Regions from separate parts of the Homo sapiens genome. Here all the other regions are linked to region 1. Evidence: promoter capture Hi-C in 16 types of primary human blood cells and fetal thymus (Javierre and others, 2016). All regions are on one chromosome and are shown on one strand. Each heading gives the region's core, a stretch centred on a gene start or on the middle of the fragment in contact. The rest is flanking DNA. Distances are from core to core; before and after follow the strand shown.

The links. Contacts are between HindIII fragments. The CHiCAGO score rates a contact against its expected background, and 5 or more counts as called.
Region 2: a contact is called between a fragment that was not itself captured here and the fragment with the promoter of RORC in region 1, in 1 of 17 cell types (M1 macrophages). The highest score is 5.3, in M1 macrophages.
Region 3: a contact is called between a fragment that was not itself captured here and the fragment with the promoter of RORC in region 1, in 3 of 17 cell types (M0 macrophages, endothelial precursors and M1 macrophages). The highest score is 7.9, in M0 macrophages.
Region 4: a contact is called between the fragment with the promoter of PSMB4 here and the fragment with the promoter of RORC in region 1, in 4 of 17 cell types (M2 macrophages, M1 macrophages, M0 macrophages and 1 more). The highest score is 7.9, in M2 macrophages.
Region 5: a fragment that was not itself captured here is called in contact with the fragment with the promoter of RORC in region 1 in 3 of 17 cell types (erythroblasts, M2 macrophages and M0 macrophages); the score reaches 6.2 in erythroblasts.
Region 6: a fragment that was not itself captured here is called in contact with the fragment with the promoter of RORC in region 1 in 3 of 17 cell types (endothelial precursors, M2 macrophages and M1 macrophages); the score reaches 5.6 in endothelial precursors.
Region 7: a fragment that was not itself captured here is called in contact with the fragment with the promoter of RORC in region 1 in 9 of 17 cell types (M1 macrophages, erythroblasts, M2 macrophages and 6 more); the score reaches 12.6 in M1 macrophages.

The regions. Positions count from the first base shown.
Region 1 is chr1:151,830,501-151,833,111 of GRCh38, forward strand. RORC (RAR related orphan receptor C) reads right to left here and starts at 1,302. Exons shown (of 11, transcript NM_005060.4): 1 at 1,225-1,302. The coding sequence starts at 1,264. RefSeq lists an enhancer at 1-610. The HindIII fragment of the contact is 14,534 bases long and covers 1-2,611 here.
Region 2 is chr1:151,349,915-151,352,525 of GRCh38, forward strand. No RefSeq gene overlaps it. Among named protein-coding and RNA genes, the nearest start is that of RFX5, 4.0 kb to the left of the region's middle. RefSeq lists a silencer at 1,286-1,486. The HindIII fragment of the contact is 1,999 bases long and covers 303-2,301 here.
Region 3 is chr1:151,379,175-151,381,785 of GRCh38, forward strand. No RefSeq gene overlaps it. Among named protein-coding and RNA genes, the nearest start is that of SELENBP1, 7.8 kb to the left of the region's middle. The HindIII fragment of the contact is 1,170 bases long and covers 743-1,912 here.
Region 4 is chr1:151,398,246-151,400,856 of GRCh38, forward strand. PSMB4 (proteasome 20S subunit beta 4) reads left to right here and starts at 1,328. Exons shown (of 7, transcript NM_002796.3): 1 at 1,328-1,482; 2 at 1,736-1,942; 3 at 2,197-2,343; 4 at 2,519-2,600. The coding sequence starts at 1,343. RefSeq lists enhancers at 685-1,407, 1,008-1,057, 1,408-2,129 and a silencer at 1,898-2,055. The HindIII fragment of the contact is 7,561 bases long and covers 1-2,611 here.
Region 5 is chr1:151,420,465-151,423,075 of GRCh38, forward strand. The region is part of intron 10 of POGZ (pogo transposable element derived with ZNF domain); the gene reads right to left. Among named protein-coding and RNA genes, the nearest start is that of PSMB4, 22 kb to the left of the region's middle. The HindIII fragment of the contact is 726 bases long and covers 969-1,694 here.
Region 6 is chr1:151,466,696-151,469,306 of GRCh38, forward strand. No RefSeq gene overlaps it. Among named protein-coding and RNA genes, the nearest start is that of POGZ, 8.5 kb to the left of the region's middle. The HindIII fragment of the contact is 5,152 bases long and covers 1-2,611 here.
Region 7 is chr1:151,486,031-151,488,641 of GRCh38, forward strand. No RefSeq gene overlaps it. Among named protein-coding and RNA genes, the nearest start is that of CGN, 24 kb to the right of the region's middle. The HindIII fragment of the contact is 3,303 bases long and covers 1-2,611 here.

The sequences.
Region 1 (2,611 bases), core at 52-2,551:
TGGCCAGTCTTTTGTCTCAGAAAGCCCTTCAACCATGCCCTATACCCCCTATAGCTTCCCTAACCTCTGACTCTATTCTGTTATTTTTTTCCTTCTGCTGTTCAGTCTTGACACCTGACATACACACACACACACACACACACACACACACACACACACACAGTGCCCTTCTGCCCGGGAGATGCTCCCCACTGGCAGGCCGTGGTCACTAGGCTGTGTGGAGGCGAGTGGCCTGATGGCCTGGGCTCTGCTGGGGTGAGGGAGGAGAAAAGACTGCCCCGAGGTGGCAAGGCCCCACCCAGCCCCGCCCACCTCCCCTTGCTCCTGCCTGGCCCCACCCAGCTTCCTCCCTGACGTGGCACCGGCTCCTGGCCTCTAGCCTTGCACCTCAGAGCAGTCCTGTGGTGGGGGTGCTCCCCTTGCTCACCCAGGCAGCCAGTTCTTCCTCCACCAGGTGGCCCTGGAGCTTGGTGGCTCTGGCCCTCAAACTTTCCTCCTCCATGCTCACAGCTGACCAAGCCTGTGGCCCTGCGATCCTGCTCTGAGGGGGTTCCTGACTTGGACCATGGGTGGGGCCAAGGACGGCCTGACATTCTGTCCTTCCCTGCTGATGGCCCAGTGCCCCACATTCTCTGCAGAGATGAAATCCCACATCCCTGGGTGAGTGGCGAGGAAAGGACCAGGCTACGTGGTCATGGGCAGCTGACAGGGTGTGGTTCCCCCTGCCACACTCCCCAAGTCTGTCACTCCTTAAAGGACAGGTTTCTCCACTGGTGAATGAACAGAAGGTGGAGCAGCCAGCCTCCCGGCCACTGCTGTCTGGGGTCCTGGCCAGATCAAGGAAGCAGTGTCCCTGTGCCTCCTGGGGGGTAAGCCCACACCTGGGAGGGCCTGTCCACATTCTGACCCCTCGCTGGGTCTAGATCTGGCTCCCCTGACTTGGCTCTTCCCTCCCCATCTACCCTCCAACCTGTTTCTTCCTTCTCCCGCTTCTCCCTTTCTTTCCTGTTTCTCTCCTTTTGCGATTTCTTCTCCTCTGTCATCTCCCCAGCCCCTCCTCCTGTTTCTCCTCCAGTTTCACTCCCTGCCAACCCAGGGCTTTCTCCTCTGCACTCTTGTCCCTCCCTCCCCTCCTCACTTCTTGCCCAGTCTCTTGCCATTTCTGCCCTCCTCTGAACCTCCAGCAGTCTCTTCCACCTGCAGGCAGGGCCATGGGCCTCTTACCCCGTGAGGCTCGGTGCTGTCTCTGTGGGGCCCTGTCCATGGGGCAGCTCCCTTGGTGCCGTCCTGGCTGCCCTGGCTGCCCAGGAGGGCAGGGAGCAGGGCCCAGGGGAGGGAGGAGGGCGGAGGGTGGAAGGCGGGAGCACCTGGCCCTCCAGCAGGCAGGGAAAAGGAGTGGCTGGCAGAGTGTCCTGGCACCAGGAGGGGACATGAGGAGAGACCAGTGGACCAGTGCATGGAGCCTTGAGGAGAAACAGGACAGGAGAAAGGAAGGGAACTAGCATTTATTAATCACTTACTGTGTGCTGGGCCCTTTGCAGGACACTTTATGTAAATCCATGCTTTTACTTTGTGTAAATATTCACAGCACCCACCACAGGGAAACATTATTATTCCAGATTGATCAGTGAGTGGAGGGATTCTCAGAGATATTAATGATTTTGCCCAAGGACTCACACAAGAACAATAAATGGGTGAGCTATGATTTGGACCCAAGTCTTTGTGACTTTAGAATCCTGTGATTTCTACCTAAGACAGGTGACAGGCATAGGGGAGATGGAGAGGGCAGGTTTGGGGGACTGTGTCTCTTCTCTAGGATGCAGTCAGACTCCTCCCAGTGACTGTTCAGTTCCCTGAGGCCTCTGCCTGCTCGGCCCCTGCCCCTAACCCTTGCTGCTCTTGCCAGGACTCCCTGACCCCCTGATGCTTCTACGTGCTCCTCATCTGTTGGGGCAAGGGGCAGGCCTGGAGGAGTGCCTGGAGGCAGAGAAGCCATGGTGGGGAAGAGGAGAGGAGAGATGCTGCACTGGACTCATTGGGAGAAGGAGAGGCTCCCAGACCTAGTGGCCCACACTGAGGCCTGCAGTGAAGGCTCTGAAGGGGGCCAAGAGGACGAGGCTTCTGGGGATCCTGGTGCTGCTTTTCTCCTGCATGGCCTGGGCCCAGAGTTTGATTAGCTGGGCCTGACTCTCCTGGTTACCCAACAAGCAACTGGCCAGGGGCCAGGCTGCAGCAAGAGGCTCCCTGGCACCTCCTCCTGCTCTCGTTCCCAGCTGGTAAACAGCAGAGCAGGAGTCAGCCATGCCACAGCCTCGTGACTCGCCCACTCCCCCCCACCTGGTGCACGTGGCACCTGGCATGGAGAGGGCAAGCAGCTGTCCCTTCCCTCTTCTGCCGTCTCGTCTCGCCATCCTCCACTCCTGCCCAACCCTGGAGCTTCACACTCTGCTACCATCAGCACCTCTGTTCTTAGGTAGCTCCCAGAGTCTCCCCATGGCTGCAGATTGAGAGATAAAGGTAGAAGTGGAGAAGGACTTTTCAACTCCTAGGGTCATTGACAGTGGATGAGTAGTGAGAAAGAGGAGGGGAAGTTTTGGGGACCTTCTGCACT
Region 2 (2,611 bases), core at 52-2,551, 480 kb before region 1:
TGCATGCCTGTAATCCCAGCTACTTGGCAGGCTGAGGCAGGAGAATTGCTTGAACCTGGGAGGCGGAGGTTGGGTGAGCCGAGATCATGCCATTGCACTCCAGCCTGGGCAACAAGAGCGAAACTCCATCTCTAAATAAATAAATAAATAAATAGCAAGCCAAATATGGATATAGACTGATGGAAAGATAGCCCTAACACCACTGTTTGGTATGAAGGAGAACCTAGAGCACTTTGGTTGCAAACAGAGTTTTGGGTAAGTTATCTAGCTTAAAAATTTGCAGATAACAGGGAAAAACTGGAAGCTTTAGTAAGGGGGGAGAAAGTATCATAGTACATAGTACCTAGTAAAAGAGATGATTTTGACAGCACTATAGAAGGTAGAGTTGAGTGAAAGAAAAGGCTAGAGATAGGAAAGAGGAAACTATTAATTTATGCCAGGCATTGTGTTAAGAGCTAGGGATACAAAGCTGAATAAGGTATGGTCCTTGCCTTGGGCAGTAACAATAAAAATTGTCCGGATAAGCATCATATAACAGCAAGTATTTATACAGAGCCTAATATGTGTTGGGGCCCGTTCTTTTTTTTTTCGAGACGGATTCTTGCTCTGTCACCCAGGCTGGAGAGCAGTGGCGCAATCTCGGCTCACTGCAAGCTCTGCCTCCCAGGTTCAAGTGATTCTCCTGCCTCAGCCTCACAAGTAGCTGGGACTACAGGCGCCTGCCACCACACCGGGCTAATTTTTTTGTATTTTTAATAGAAACGGGGTTTCACCATGTTAGCCAGGATGGTCTCTATCTCCTGACCTCGTGATCCGCCCGCCTCAGCCTCCCAAAGTGCTGGGATTACAGGCGTGAGCTACCGCGTGCGGCCTCAGATAGATACTATGATTATCCCCATTTTACAGGTGAGGAGACAGGCATTGAAAGGTTAATAATTTGCCCAAGATTACATCATAATTTAGTAAGCTATGGAGCCAGGATCTGCACCTAGGCTCTTTGCGTTGCAGCTTTTTTTTTTTTTCCTTTTTAGACAGAGTCTCACTCTGTCATCCAGGCTGTAGTGCAGTGGCTCCACTGCACTTGGCTCACTGCAACCTCTGCCTCCCAGGTTCAAGTGATTTTCCTACCTCAGCCTCCTGAGTAGCTGGGATTACAGGCGTGTGCCACCACACCTGGCTAATTTTTGTATTTTTAGTAGAAATGGGGTCTCACCATTTTGGCCAAGCTAGTCTTGAGCTCCTGACCTCAAATGATCCACCCACCTTGGCTTCCAAAAGTGCTGGGATTATAGGCGTGAGCCACCATGCCTGGCCTGTTGCAGCTTTTTCACTCTTGCTGTTTGGAGAGTGGGAGGGAGTGTTCCAGCATTTTCACTTCAACTGCTGGTGGACTCTGTATTCTTGTCCCACGACCAAGAAGAATAAGGTGTGTAGACACTGGAGAGTGAGTAAGGCAGTCAGATTTATTTATTTATTTACTTATTTATTTTATTATTTTTTTTGAGATGGGGGAGTCTCACTCTGTCACCTGAACTGGAGTGCAGTGGCATGATCTTGGCTCACTGCAACCTCCGCCTCCCGGGTTCAAGCGATTCTCTTGCCTCAGCCTCCCAAGTAGCTAGAACTGTAGGTGCCTGCTACCACACCCAGCCAATATTTTGCTTTTTGTTTTTTTTTTGGCGGGGGGGCGATGGAGTTTCACTCTGTTACCAAGCTGGAGTGCAGTGGCACAATCTTGGCTCACTGCAACCTCCACCTCCTGGGTACAAACAATTCTCCTGCCTCAGCCTCCCAGGTAGCTGAGATTACAGGCGCCTGCCACCATGCCCAGCTAATTTTTGTATTTTTAGTAGAGATGGTGTTTCACCATGTTGTCCAGGACGGTCTCAATCTCTTGACCTCATGATCTGCCCGTCTTGGCCTCTCAAAGTGCTGGGATTACAGGTGTGAGCCACCGAACCTGGCTAATTTTTTGTATTTTTAGTACAGACGGGGTTTCACCATGTTGGCCAGGCTGGTCTCAAACTCCTGACCAGCCAGAGTCAGATTTATTAAGCAACAGAAAAGCTCTCAGCAAAGAGGGGGCCTGAAAGAGGATTGCCAGCTATGAGGCTGAGTGGGAGGGTGAGGAGGGTGGCTTATGGACTGGGAAAGGGAGGAGTGTGCTGATCGGGCCTGCAGGCTATCTTGCAGAAAGCACCACTCAGAAAGAGGTATGATAGTGTAAAGAACCAGTTGGAGGCAGAAGTGAAGGCTTGGCTCAACAACTTGGCCTGGAACCAAGTCAGGGGCTGAAGTGAAAGCTTGGGCCAGGACCTTGGCCTGGAACCAATCAGGGGCTGAAGTGATGATTCACCCTATGTAAATGAAGACTCCCGCTGTGGCCAATCACAGAAAGGTAAGCATATGTAAAATAGATGAAAACTAAGAGACTAAGGTGTGCCAAAGAGAGTGAAATATGTCCAAAAAGGGAGTGGTATTTGTTCATCTGGGTTCCTAGAGTAGGTATTTCCATTCCAGGATGCGGGCTGTCACTTATCTGGGGCCTGCAGTTTAATTTTCAGGCTGTTCTTTGTTTGAAGGAGTTTTACCAAGGACCCACCTTAACTGC
Region 3 (2,611 bases), core at 78-2,577, 450 kb before region 1:
AGCCTCATTTTAATTAAAACTACATAAAAATTAAGCTATATAGTTTTAACTAGTTAAATTTATATTTATTTATTTATTCATCCATCTATACGTTCATAGAAAAGGATTTGGCTTATGATTGATGTCAGTATTTTGGGAGGCTGAGGCAGGCAGATTGCTTGAGCCCAGGGGTTTGTGACCAGCCTGGGCAACATAATGAGACACCGTCTCTACAAAAAATTAAAACAATTTAGGCCTGGCAGGCTCCTGTAGTCCTAGCTACTTCGGGGGTGGGGAAGGTGTGCTGAGGTGGGAAGATTGTTTAAGCCCTGGAGGTCGAGGCTGCAGTGAGCTGTGATTGCACCACTGCACTCTGGTCTGGGTGGCAGAGTGAGACGCTGTCTCAAAAAAAAAAAAAAGTAGGCCGGGCGTGGTGGCTCACTCCTGTAATTCCAGGACTTGGGGAGGCCGAGGCGGGCGGATCACGAGGTCAGGAGATCGAGACCATCCTGGCTAACACAGCGAAACCCCATCTCTACTAAAAATACAAAAAAAAAAAAAAAAAAAAAAATTAGCCGGGCATGGTGGCAGGCGCCTGTAGTCCCAGCTACTTGGGAATCTGAGGCAGGAGAATGGCATGAACCCGGGAGGTGGAGGTTGCAGTGAGCTGAGATCGTGCCACTGCACTCCACCCTGGGCGACAGAGCAAGACTCCGCTTAAAAAAAAAAAAAAAAACCTAAAGAAAAGGATTTGTAGAGATAAAGCTTCCCTTATCATGCCAAATGTAGCTAACAGTGGTTACCTCAAGAATTGGATTACAGGGAGCAATTTTTATTTTTCACATTATGTATCAATCATATTTTTAAAATTTTATATTAAGTTTGAAATACATGTGTAAACAATTGAAACAGTGAAAGAATACAGTAACATTTTTGCCTATAAGATGGGCAAAAAATTTAAAGGTTAAAATCTTGTATTGGTGAGACTATGCGGCAAAGGGACCACTCATTTAGGACTAATGAGAGTGTCAATTGGTGCCTTACTAACAAAAACAATTTGTCAATACCTCACAAAAGTTAAACTGTGCATACTGTTTTACCTAGGAATTTCACTTCAAGGATGCAATCCCATGGAAATACCTGCACAAGTAGGCAAGAAACAGGTACAGGTTGAGGCGGTGGCTCACGCCTGTAATCCCAGCACTTTGGGAGGCTGAGGCAGGTGGATCCCCTGAGGTCAAGAGTTCGAGACCAGCCTGGCCAACATGGCAAAACCCTGTCTCTACTAAAAGTATAAGAATTAGCCTGGCGTGGTGGCACACACCTGCAATCCCAGCTACTTGGGAGGCTGAGGCAGGAGAATCACTTGAACCTGGGAGGTGGAGGTTGCAGCGAGCCAAAATTGCACCACTGCATTGCAGCCTGGGGCGACAGAGGGAGACTCTGTCTAAAAAAAAAAAAAAAAAAGAAAAAAGATATAGGTACAGGTTGAGCATCCTTAATCTGAAAATCTGAAATCCAAAATGCTCCAAAATCTGAAATGTTTTGAGCACCAGTGTGACACCACAGGTAGCAAATTGCGTGCCTGACCTCACGTGTTGGGTCACAGTCAAGACTTTGTTTCATGTACAAATTATTTAAAATATTGTATAAAGTTACCTTCAGGCTATGTGTATAAGGTGTTTATGAAACACAAATAAATTTGCGTTTAGACTTGGGTCCCATCCCCAAGATATTTTAATATATATATATGTATTCCAAAATCTGAAAAAAATCTGAAATCTGGAACACTTCTGGTCCCAAGCAGTTTGGATAAGGGATACCCAAACTGTAATAATAAAATAACAACAGCTATCATTTATTAAATACATGGTACTGTTCGAAGTACTTAGGGATAAAGAAAGAGAAATGAACCACATCCACCTCATATAAAAGCTTTCCATGTGCCAAGTACTTCTCTGAGCTATTTGCATGTTCTGCCTTTACTTATACAGGGTTTACAACATCCCTATGAAGTGGGTATTTTCATTATGTCCAATTTACAGATAAAGAAGTTACAGCATAGAAAGAGGAAGCAACTCATACAAAGTTACACAGCTAGTGAGTAGCAGAGCCCAGGATCTGAAGCCAGGCAGTAGCTTCAGGCTCTGGCCTGGGACCTCTATGCACATAAGTTCGCAGCCCCTTCAGACAGAATGCTTTTGTGTTTTGTTGCTTGGATGGCTGGCCAGCACATTCAGCCCTTTCTATATTGGGTGGGAGGCAAAAGGCCAGATACTCACCGTCCCAGGCCTTAGGCCTCCTTGCTGCTAGGAGCAAGCATGTGACTTGGTCTTGGACGCAGCCAGGTGTGCCCACCGGAGACTCCAACACAAGGAAGTAGGGAGTGGGTTCTGGTTGCTGCAGGGAAGGCTGGTGTGCGGGTGGGTCACCATGCTGCAGAACCTCCCAGGGTCCAGCGCAGCTGGTGGTGCCATGGCAGCACATAGAACTTGAGGGGTAGAGGCAGTGTCCTTTGATTGGGATCTAGGACAAGAAAGGGCTCTCTGGCTGCAACCACTTCTGCCACTGGGGCCTTATGATCGAGCAGATCCAGTGATGCTTGGTGAGTTGGGGTGATCCATGGGATGAG
Region 4 (2,611 bases), core at 78-2,577, 430 kb before region 1:
GAAGGAAACCCCTGGAATTTAGTTTCACCCCTACACTTCCAATGGAATTTTTCTGTTTCTTTAGAGGTGGGCAAGGGCCCTTGACAATAAGGAAACTTTCAGACTTGTCTAAGGTCCCACAGAGAGTGCTTGATCCACCTGAGCTATCACACCCCACAGGGTATACACAAGTGTATTCTTTTTTTTTTTTTTTTTTTTTTTTTTTTTGTGACAGGGTCTCGCTCTGTTGCCCAGGCTGGAGTGCAGTGGCGCCACCTTGGCTCACTGCAACCTCCCTCGGGTTCAGGCGATTCTCCCACCTCACCCTCCCAAGTAGCTGGAATTACAGGCCTGGCTAATTTTTTGTTTTGTTTTGTTTTGTAGAGGTGAGGTCTCACCATGTTGCCAAGGCTGGTCTTGAATTCCTGGGTTCAAGTGATCCTCCCGTCTTGGCCTCCCAAAGTTCTGGGATTACAGGCATGAGCCACCGCACCCGGCCCTGATTCCTTTTTTTATTCTAGCTTCAAGATTCAGTTCTACCGTTATCGGCTGTGTGACTGGGTAAATCACTACACCGCAAGCCTCGGTTTCCTATTTACCAAATGGGTCGAATAATGCCTGCCACATGGGGCTGCTCTGAGGAGTACAGATGTAAGAGATCCTGTGTTCACTGATATTTTCATGTGGGCTTTTTGATAATGATACAAAAGGAACATGAGAACTGTGACTTCTAGGCCGGGCGAGGCGGCTTACTCCTGTAATCCCAGCACTTTGGGAGTCCGAGGCAGGCGGATCACCTGAGATCCGGAGTTCGAGACCAGCCTGGCCAACATGGTGAAACCCCATCTCTAGCAAAAATACAAAAAATTAGCCAGGCGTGGTGGCAGGCGCCTGTAATCCCAGCTACTCGGGAGGCTAAGGCACGAGAATCGCTTGAATCTGGGAGGCGGAGGTTGCAGTGAGCCGAGATCGCGCCACTGCATTCCAGCCTGGGGGCCAGAGCGAGACTCCGTCTCAAAAAAATAAAAAATAAAATAAAAAATTGTGACGTCTCACTCAGGATCAGCGTCTTTAAGTGGCCACCTCCCCACCCCACCTTCATGCCTCCCTCCTCCTTGAATCGTGTGTTAGAACGCTGTGATCTGGTCCAAACTCCACGGAGATGCGATGCGATGCGAAGCGATGTTGGGCAATTTCAACTCCCTGTCTCGGTCGCCACCTAGGATTACTGCATGTTCAGCTACGACCTCATCAACATGGCTGCTGGAAGTCGTCTACAGGAAAAAGAAAGAAATGACACTGAAGGATCACTTCCGCTTCCGTTGGCGCAAGCGCTTTCATTTTTTCTGCTACCGTGACTAAGATGGAAGCGTTTTTGGGGTCGCGGTCCGGACTTTGGGCGGGGGGTCCGGCCCCAGGACAGTTTTACCGCATTCCGTCCACTCCCGATTCCTTCATGGATCCGGCGTCTGCACTTTACAGAGGTCCAATCACGCGGACCCAGTAAGTTCTCGGCGCTTTCGTTTGCGTAGCGGGAGGGACCGTGGGGCCTGGTGCTGCCGGCTGGTTTTGAGAGCCCGGGAAGGTGAGGCGGGGACCCCGGGGGCGCGCGAACGGCAGGGGAGCTCAGGGCGCGGAGTCCTGGAGAATGCAGAATAATTGGAAGGAATTATAGAAAATCAGAAGCGCAGCTCAGTGCGCGGAAAGAGGGCGCAGTCCATCCCCCCTCTCAGCTCCCACCGTTCTCACTCTTTAGGAACCCCATGGTGACCGGGACCTCAGTCCTCGGCGTTAAGTTCGAGGGCGGAGTGGTGATTGCCGCAGACATGCTGGGATCCTACGGCTCCTTGGCTCGTTTCCGCAACATCTCTCGCATTATGCGAGTCAACAACAGTACCATGCTGGGTGCCTCTGGCGACTACGCTGATTTCCAGTATTTGAAGCAAGTTCTCGGCCAGATGGTGTAAGTCATCCAGAGAACAGGAGAGTGGTTCCCAAGTAGAGAGGGGAGTCCCCTGTTTTTTATTCCCTTCGATGGGATGGGGGGACTTGTTGCAGCGGGGGACTGGAAGAGTTGTTGGAGGTGGGCGATCTGTGTTTGCAATAAAGTTTTTGGCATTAGGTGTAAAATGGGGGAAGGTGTGGTAACTTCTTTTGGGGATGGGTGGAGACCCCGACTTAATTCTCTCCCTTTTCTCACAACCAATTCCTTTTAAGGATTGATGAGGAGCTTCTGGGAGATGGACACAGCTATAGTCCTAGAGCTATTCATTCATGGCTGACCAGGGCCATGTACAGCCGGCGCTCGAAGATGAACCCTTTGTGGAACACCATGGTCATCGGAGGCTATGCTGATGGAGAGAGGTTCATATGAATACAAATAACTTATTTCCTTTACCACCCAACCTAGTACCTGTGTAGTATCTCTTCTGTCTCTTCTCCCCAAGTGAATCCCACTTTAACTCAGACCCCATGGTCCCCTTCTTCAGCTAAGATGAATCTAAGGTGAAATGAGTTTTGACCCATTGTGTCCTGTTAGCTTCCTCGGTTATGTGGACATGCTTGGTGTAGCCTATGAAGCCCCTTCGCTGGCCACTGGTTATGGTGCATACTTGGCTCAGGTAAGTAGTAA
Region 5 (2,611 bases), core at 82-2,581, 410 kb before region 1:
CGCCACCACACCCAATTTTTGTATTTTTTTTGTAGAGACGGGGTTTCTCCATGCTGCCCAGGCTGGTCTTGAACTCCTAAGCTCAATCTGCCTGCCTCGGCCTCTCAAAGTGCTGAGATTACAGGTGTGAACCACTGCACCTGGCCCGGTTGATTCTAATATACATTCTACTCCCAAATGATTAGTCCAAAGTTTCACTGTCTAATATGGTGGCACCAGCAACATGTATCTAGTGAACACTTAAAATGTGGTAAGCTCAAACCCAATTTAGATTTGTATTTCAAAAGATCTGTTTTTTAATGGAGGAAAAAAGAATGACGAATATCTCATTAATTTTAAATTTTGAGTTCATGTTGAAATATTTTTAATATACTGAATAAAATATGCTGTTAAAATTAATTTTGCCTGTTTTTTTAAACTTTACAGTAGACGCCCTTTGCCAATGGGAAATATACGTTCCAAGACCCCCAGTGCATACATGAAACCTCAGATAGTATTGAACCCTATACATACCGTGTTTTTTCATATATATATATATATATACCTATGATAAAGTTTAATTTATAAATTAGGCAAAGAGATTAACAATTAAAAATATATAATATATAAAAGGATAATTATAACAATATACTGTAATAAAAGTTATGTGAATGTGGTGTCTCTCTCAATAATCTTATTGTACTGCACTCACCTAGTTTTGGACTGTGATTGAGACTAAAATTGAGGATAAGGGAGCGCTACTGTATTTAAAGTGAAAAAAATTAAAATTACTCATGAAGCTTGCATATTTCTACTGCCTAGTGTTACTGTAAGCCATTAATGTCAATCCCACTTCCCTTGCCAATAAATGGTCAGAGATATAAAAGGAAAGCAATTCTCACTCATAAGAAAACAGATTCAAGAAAGAAAAATTGAGGATAAGGGAGCGCTACTGTATTTAAAGTGAAAAAAATTAAAATTACTCATGAAGCTTGCGTATTTCTACTGCCTAGTGTTACTGTAAGCCATTAATGTCAATCCCACTTCCCTTGCCAATAAATGGTCAAAGAGATATAAAAGGAAAGCAATTCTCACTCATAAGAAAACAGATTCAAGAAAGAAAGATGGGAAGATAAGATCTCTTCTTTGTCTAACAATTTTTTATCTGGACATAGTGCCTGACACTTATACAGCCACCCTGCTATGAGCCAGAGACAAGAGAATTGTTGAAAACCAGCAGGGCAGTCAAATTCTAGGCTGAAGCATCCATTTCTGTATCTCTCAGTTAAATGATATAACAGATATTCTTATTGTTTTCTTTTGTTTTGAGACAGAGACTCGCTCTGTCATCCAGGCTGGAGTGCAGTGGTGCGATCTCAGCTCACTGCAACCTCTACCTCCTGGGATCAAGTGATTCTCATGCCTTGGCTTCCTGAGTAGTTGGGATTACCTGCGCACACCACCACAGCCAGCGAATTTTTGTATTTTTAGTAGAGATGTGGTTTTGCCATGTTGGCCAGACTGGTCTCCCCTGGCCTCAACTGATCCACCCACCTAAGCCTCCCAAAGTGCTGGGATTACAGGTGTGAGCCACCACACCCAGTCCTTATTGTTTAATTCATTTTTAGTTAAGGATTTTTACTTGTAGCAAATGCATCCAGATAATATGCATATGTCTTCTATGCTTTTGATCATGCTGTTTTCAATCACCTAAAAGCTTTTCTTACTACTCTCCATCCATCTAAACCTTTCTTAAATTTAAGCACGACTTTCTTGGAAACCTAGCCACAAGGATTTTTTCCCTTCTCTGAAGTATTTCACCTATCAATGATATCTTAAAATGTCTATGTTTATAATATACTATCTTGTTCTCACATTTTCCTATATTTACATAATTTTTGTCTTTACAACAAAACTGGAAATCCCGTAAAGGACATGAGAAGTATTCTCAATACTGGGCTTAAATCCTCACTATGTATCCCCAGTAGAGGTGTATTTAGAGGTGTACGCTCATAAGCAAATGACTCAATTTCTTTGAGCTTATGTTCAGCCTACATCTATCTATAAAATGTACAGTGTAGAAAAACATTCCAGCTTACCTTATATTTCACTGAAAGCACTGTCTTAATGATAAAGTACTTCATAATATTATCTTTTTTTTTTTGGAGATGGAGTTTTGCTCTTGTTGCCCAGACTGGAGTGCAATGGCATGATCTCAGCTCACTGCAACCTCCGCCTCCCGGGTTCAAGCGATTCTCCTGTCTCAGCCTCCCGAGTAGCTGGGATTACAGGTGCCCGCCACCACACCCAGCTAATTTTTGCATTTTTAGTAGAGATGGGGCTTCGCCATGTTGGCCGGGCTGGTCTCGAATTCCTGACTTCAGGTGATCTGCCTGCTTCGGCCTCCCAAAGTGTTGGGATTACAGGCGTGAGCCACCGTGCCCGGCCATATTATCTTTTATCCTACTTAATTTCTTTGAGCTTATGTCCAGCCTACATGTATAAAATATACAGTGTAGAAAACACTCCAGCTCATCTTATATTTCATTGAAAGCAATGTCTTAATGATAAAGTACTTCACAATATTATCTTTTAGCCTACATAAAACCTATCAGGGTTTAACTAAAGTGGA
Region 6 (2,611 bases), core at 32-2,531, 360 kb before region 1:
ATTGTGCCACTGCGCTCCTCCCTGGGTGACAGAGCAAGACTCTGTCTCGAGAAAAAAAAAAAAAAAAAAAGTTATGCTTCATTCCCTATCTTCCTAGAGAAATGATACATTTCTCAATAATCCTATATGAACATATGTGCCCAAAGAACTAGAGTTTCTTCTCACTCTAACATGTGGCTTACTATTATTATATTACTATTACTATATTACTGTTATTATTATTATTTTTGAGATGGAGTCTCACTGTGTTACCCAGGTTGGAGTGCAGTGGTACGATCTCAGCTCACTGCAACCTCCGCCTCCTGGGTTCAGGCAATTTTTCTGCCTCAGCCTCCTGAGTAGCTGGGACTACACCCGCGTGCCACCACACCTGGCTAATTTTTGTATTTTTAGTAGAGACGGGGTTTCACCATAGTGGCCAGGCTGGTCTCGAAGCCCTGACCTCATGATCCGCCCGCCTTGGCCTCCTAAAGTGCTGGGATTACAGGCGTGAGCCACTGTACCCGGCCATTATTATTATTATTTTACTTCTTCCTTTATCTTTGCCCAAGATGTTCTTCGACATGTAGGAAAGTCCAGGAACCTCTAGAACCCCATAGATGATCAGATAGTCTAGTTACTTCAGCCAGTTGAGTTGATATAATTGGCATTAAGGAGGTTATTTTGATTCTCCAACCTTGCAAGAATAGTGGCTCTCCTGGGATGCCTGCCTTTACTATATTGACTGTGGCTCACTGAATATTCATGTACTCTCATTTCCCAGCCTCTCTTGTAGCTGTATCAGGGCCTCAAGATTGAGTCCTTGTAAATGGGAATGTAAGTGCAATTGATGGATTACTTCTGGCCCAGAATGTTATTCCTAGCCTAGAAAGTGAATCTTAACCTTTTTTTTTTTTTTTTTTTTTATGAGACAAAGTCTCTCTCTGTCACCCAGGCTGGAGTGCAGTGGTGTGATTTCAGCCCGCCACCACATCCGGCTAATTTTTTGTATTTTTAGTAGAGACGGGTTTTCACCATGTTAGCCAGGATGGTCTCGATCTCCTGACCTCGTGATCTCTTAACCTTTTTTTTGCATTTTTTAGTAGAAATGGGGTTTCACCATATTGGCCAGGCTGGTCTCGAACTCCTGACCTCAAGAATGTTCTGGGCCAGAAGTAATCCATCAATTGCCCTTCAATTTAAAGGTTGACATGCCTCCTCTTTTCCCATCAAATGGGATGGTAGAACCAGAGTATGGAAGCATCCTAGATTCCTGAGTCACCCCATGAAGTAGAGTTGAACTAGTGAGTTGCCCAGAATACATCAGACTTTACCAGAATAACAACAAAAAAAATTTATTGTGCTAAATCACTGAGATTCCAGGATTAATTTGTTAATGTAGGATAGCCTAATTATACTGACTAATAAACGGGTATAAAGGTTGGACTGAAAAAATAAGAAGTTCCCAGGACACTTTTATGGTTAAGAATGTGAGACAAGGCCAGGTGCAGTAGCTCACGCCTGTAATCCCAGAACTTTGGGAGGCCAAGGAGGGAGGATTGTTTGAGTCCAAAAGTTCAAGAGCAGCCTGGGCAACGTAATGAAACCCTATCTCTACAAAAAGTAAAAAGTTAGTTGGGTGTGGTAGTGCGTGCCTGTAGTCCCAGCCACTGGAGAGGCTGAGGCGGGAAGGCTGCTGGAGCCCAGGATTTTGAGGCTGCAGTGAGCTACGATTGTGCCATTGCACTCCAGCCTGGGTGGCAGTGTGAGACCTGTCTCTAAACAAAACAAAACACAACAAAAAAGAATGAGAGACAACATGGTGAACTGGATAGAGCCTGATATTAGTTACATTGCAGGGTTGTTATATTAGAGATATAATATATAAAATGTCTAGGCCAATACTTTACAGTAGTTACTCCATAAATGATAGTTTTTACCAATAATTCTTAAGATATAAATATTTTATGGGACATGATAACATTTGACTATACTCATGGATGACAGGCTCCCTATTCTGATTCTTCCCGAGATTTCTTACCTTAAGGTATCTCTTCTAAATACTTTGGGTCTTGGGCTCAAGCATCTTTTATAAAATTGCTTGAAGTAATAACTTCCAAGAAATACGTAGTTATTGTTCTTAATCAGTCAAGCATTTAGTAAAACCCTACTATTTCTTCCACATGTTAATTAACAAAATAGGTAACGTAATATTGCCAAGTGTTAATTTGTGTGGCCCAGGCAATTAAAGAATATGACATATAAAATGATGTTAAATGTATGAGACAGACAGTACCTTCTGGCAAGAGATAGGAAAGATCTGTGCAGGCTCAAGTCTTCGGTGAAAAATTCTTGAAAGGAGTGGGCTCAGACCTTGTCTTAAAGAAGGGGCAGGATGTAGATAAATGAGGGAAAAGAAGAAAGGCATTCCACGTGGGCAGCAGATTAATAAAGTTACTGATAAAACCAACAAAGAGGCCGGATGTGGTGGCTCACGCCTGTAATCCCAGCACTTTGGGAGGCCAAGGTGGGCGGATCACGAGGTCGGGAGTTCAAGACCAGCCTGGCTAACATGGTGAAACCCTGTTTCTACTAAAAATACAAAAATTAGCGAGGCATAGTGGTGTGCGCC
Region 7 (2,611 bases), core at 30-2,529, 340 kb before region 1:
GGAACCATGCTTGGCTTAATGCCCAGCATCCTAATCGCAAGTCCATTCCCAGAGCTAGAAGTATCAGCCTCCCATGAAAATGAAACCTAGAAAACTCCAGGCAGTTGATAAGACTTTTAAGTACATGATATGAGGCTCTCAAGAGAAGAAATGGGAATCCCCTCCCAAGGACCTCATCATATAATTAATCCATTTAAGCAATCAAAAGGCAGAACTGTATATTCTTATTACATGCATGACTATAAGCATGATTCTAGAGTCAGACTGTCAGGGTGTGAATCCTGCTACTTACTGTATGACCTTGGGCAAGTTACTTAACATCTCTGCACTTTGATTTCCTCACTTAAAATGGAAATGATAATACTTCATAAGGTCATTATGAAAATCAAATGAGGTAATATTTGTAAAGTAATTAAAATAGTAATAGTAAGTGCTAAAGTGCTTTTAAATAAATATATACAAAACAATTATAAATTTACAGTTATAATTTATAAATAACATATAAGTGAAACATTCATCTTGTGGTTTAGCCTCATAAGAATTTATAATTGGAAAAAATTATAGAAAAAAAGAAATCAAGAAGGGTTTCACTGAAGTAGTGAAACTGAGCAATTGGTAGGATTTGAGTAGCCACAGAGGTGTGGCCTAGATCTGGGGATCAACAGGCAAAAGTATGGAGGCAGCAACTGGCATGGCTGGGGCCAGATAAGGTGGAGAGTGAGAAGGAATGCTAGCCAATAGGACTGGAATTGGAGAGTAGGGAGACATAGGTGGAGACCTGATTATGTAAGACTTTGAAAGTTAGATTTGCTGTAATAGGCAATGGAGAATTGTTGAGATTTTCCAGAGGGAAATGACATGATGAAAGGGAAGTTTTGGGTGGTCACAGTGGCTCACACTTGTAATCCCAGTACTTTGGAAGGCCGAAGCGAATGGATTGCTTGAGTCCAGGAGTTCAAGGCCAGCCTGGGCTACATGGCAAAATCCCATCTCTACAAAAAATACAAAAATTAGCCAGGTGTTTTGGCACGTGCCTGTAGTCCCAGCAAAATTTCTTTTGCTGCTCTCTGCATGTCTGTGGATGACCATGAAAGCACCTTGAGTATTCTTTTATTTTTTTCCTTCCTTCCTTCCTTCCTTTCTCTCTCTCCTTCCTTCCTTCCTTTCTCTTTCCCTCCCTCCCTCCCTCCTTCCTCCCTTACCTCCCTCCCTCCCTCCTTCCCTCCCTCTTTTCTTTTCTTTTCTTTTCTTTCTTCCTTCCCTCCTTCCTTTCTTTCTTTCTTTTTTTTTTTTTTTTTGGGCAGGGTCTCACTTTGTCATCCAGGATGGAGTATAGTGGCGTGATCTTTGCTTACTGCAGCCTCAACCTTCCAGGCTCAAGTGATCCTCCTACCTCAGCCTCCTGAATAGCTGGGACTACAAATGCATGCCACCACACTTGGCTAATTTTTATATTTTTTGTAGAGACAGGATTTCACCACATTGCCCAGGCTGATCTCCAACTCCTGAGCTCAAGCAATCCACCTGCTTTGGCCTCCCAAAGTCCTAGGATTACAGGCGTGAGCCACTGAGCCTAGCCAGGATATCTGTTTTTTTGTTTTGTTTTGTTTGTTTGTTTGTTTTTGAGATGGAGTCTCACTCTGTTGTCCAGGCGGGAGTGCAGTGGAGTGATCTCAGTTCACGGCAAGCTCCACCTCCTGGGTTCAAGCGATTCTCCTGCCTCAGCCTCCTGAGTACCTGGGATTACAGGTGCCCGCCACCACGCCCGGCTAATTTTTGTATTTTTAGTAGAGACAGGGTTTCACCAAGTTGGCTATGATGATCTCGATCTCTTGACCTCGTGATCTGCCCACCTCAGCCTCCCAAAGTGCTGGGATTACAGGTGTGAGCCACCGTGCCTGGCTGATAATTGTATTTCAAATAATAGTTACTGCATAGTTGCTCTCCAAAAAGTTTGTACTGATTTTTGCTCCTATAAAGAATATTTGAGAGTGCCTATTTTCTCACAGGTGTCAACTCCAGGAATTTCCAAACCTTAAAAAATTTGCCAGTCTGATAGGCAAAAAATGATATCTTGTAGTCATTTTAATTTTTTGCTTTGTTTTGAGACAGAGTCTTTGTCTGTCTCCCAGGCTGGAGTGCAGTGGCACAATCATGGTTCACTGCAGCCTTGACCTCCCAGGCTCAAGGGAGCCTCTCACCTCAGCCTCCCAAGTAGCTGGAACTACAGGTATGCACCACCATATCTGGCTAATTTTAAAACTTTTTGTAGAGTCTTGCTATGTTGCCCAGGCTGGTCTTGAACTCCTGGGTTCAAGTGATCCTCCTGCCTCAGCCTCCCAAAGTGCTGGGGTTACAGGCTTGAGCCACTGCCCCCGGCCTATAATTTACATCTATTTAATTTGCATCTATTTAGTATGTGTGAACATTTTCCCTATGTATTTGGTCATTTTCTTGTTTTCTTTTTGTGAACTGCCTGTTTCTATCCTTTGTTCATTTCCTTATTAGGTTGTTTGTCTTTACTATTTCTTTTTTCATTTTTATTTTTGGAGACGGTCTTGCTCTGTTGCCCGGGCTGGAGTGCAGTGATGTAGTTATAGCTCACTGTAAC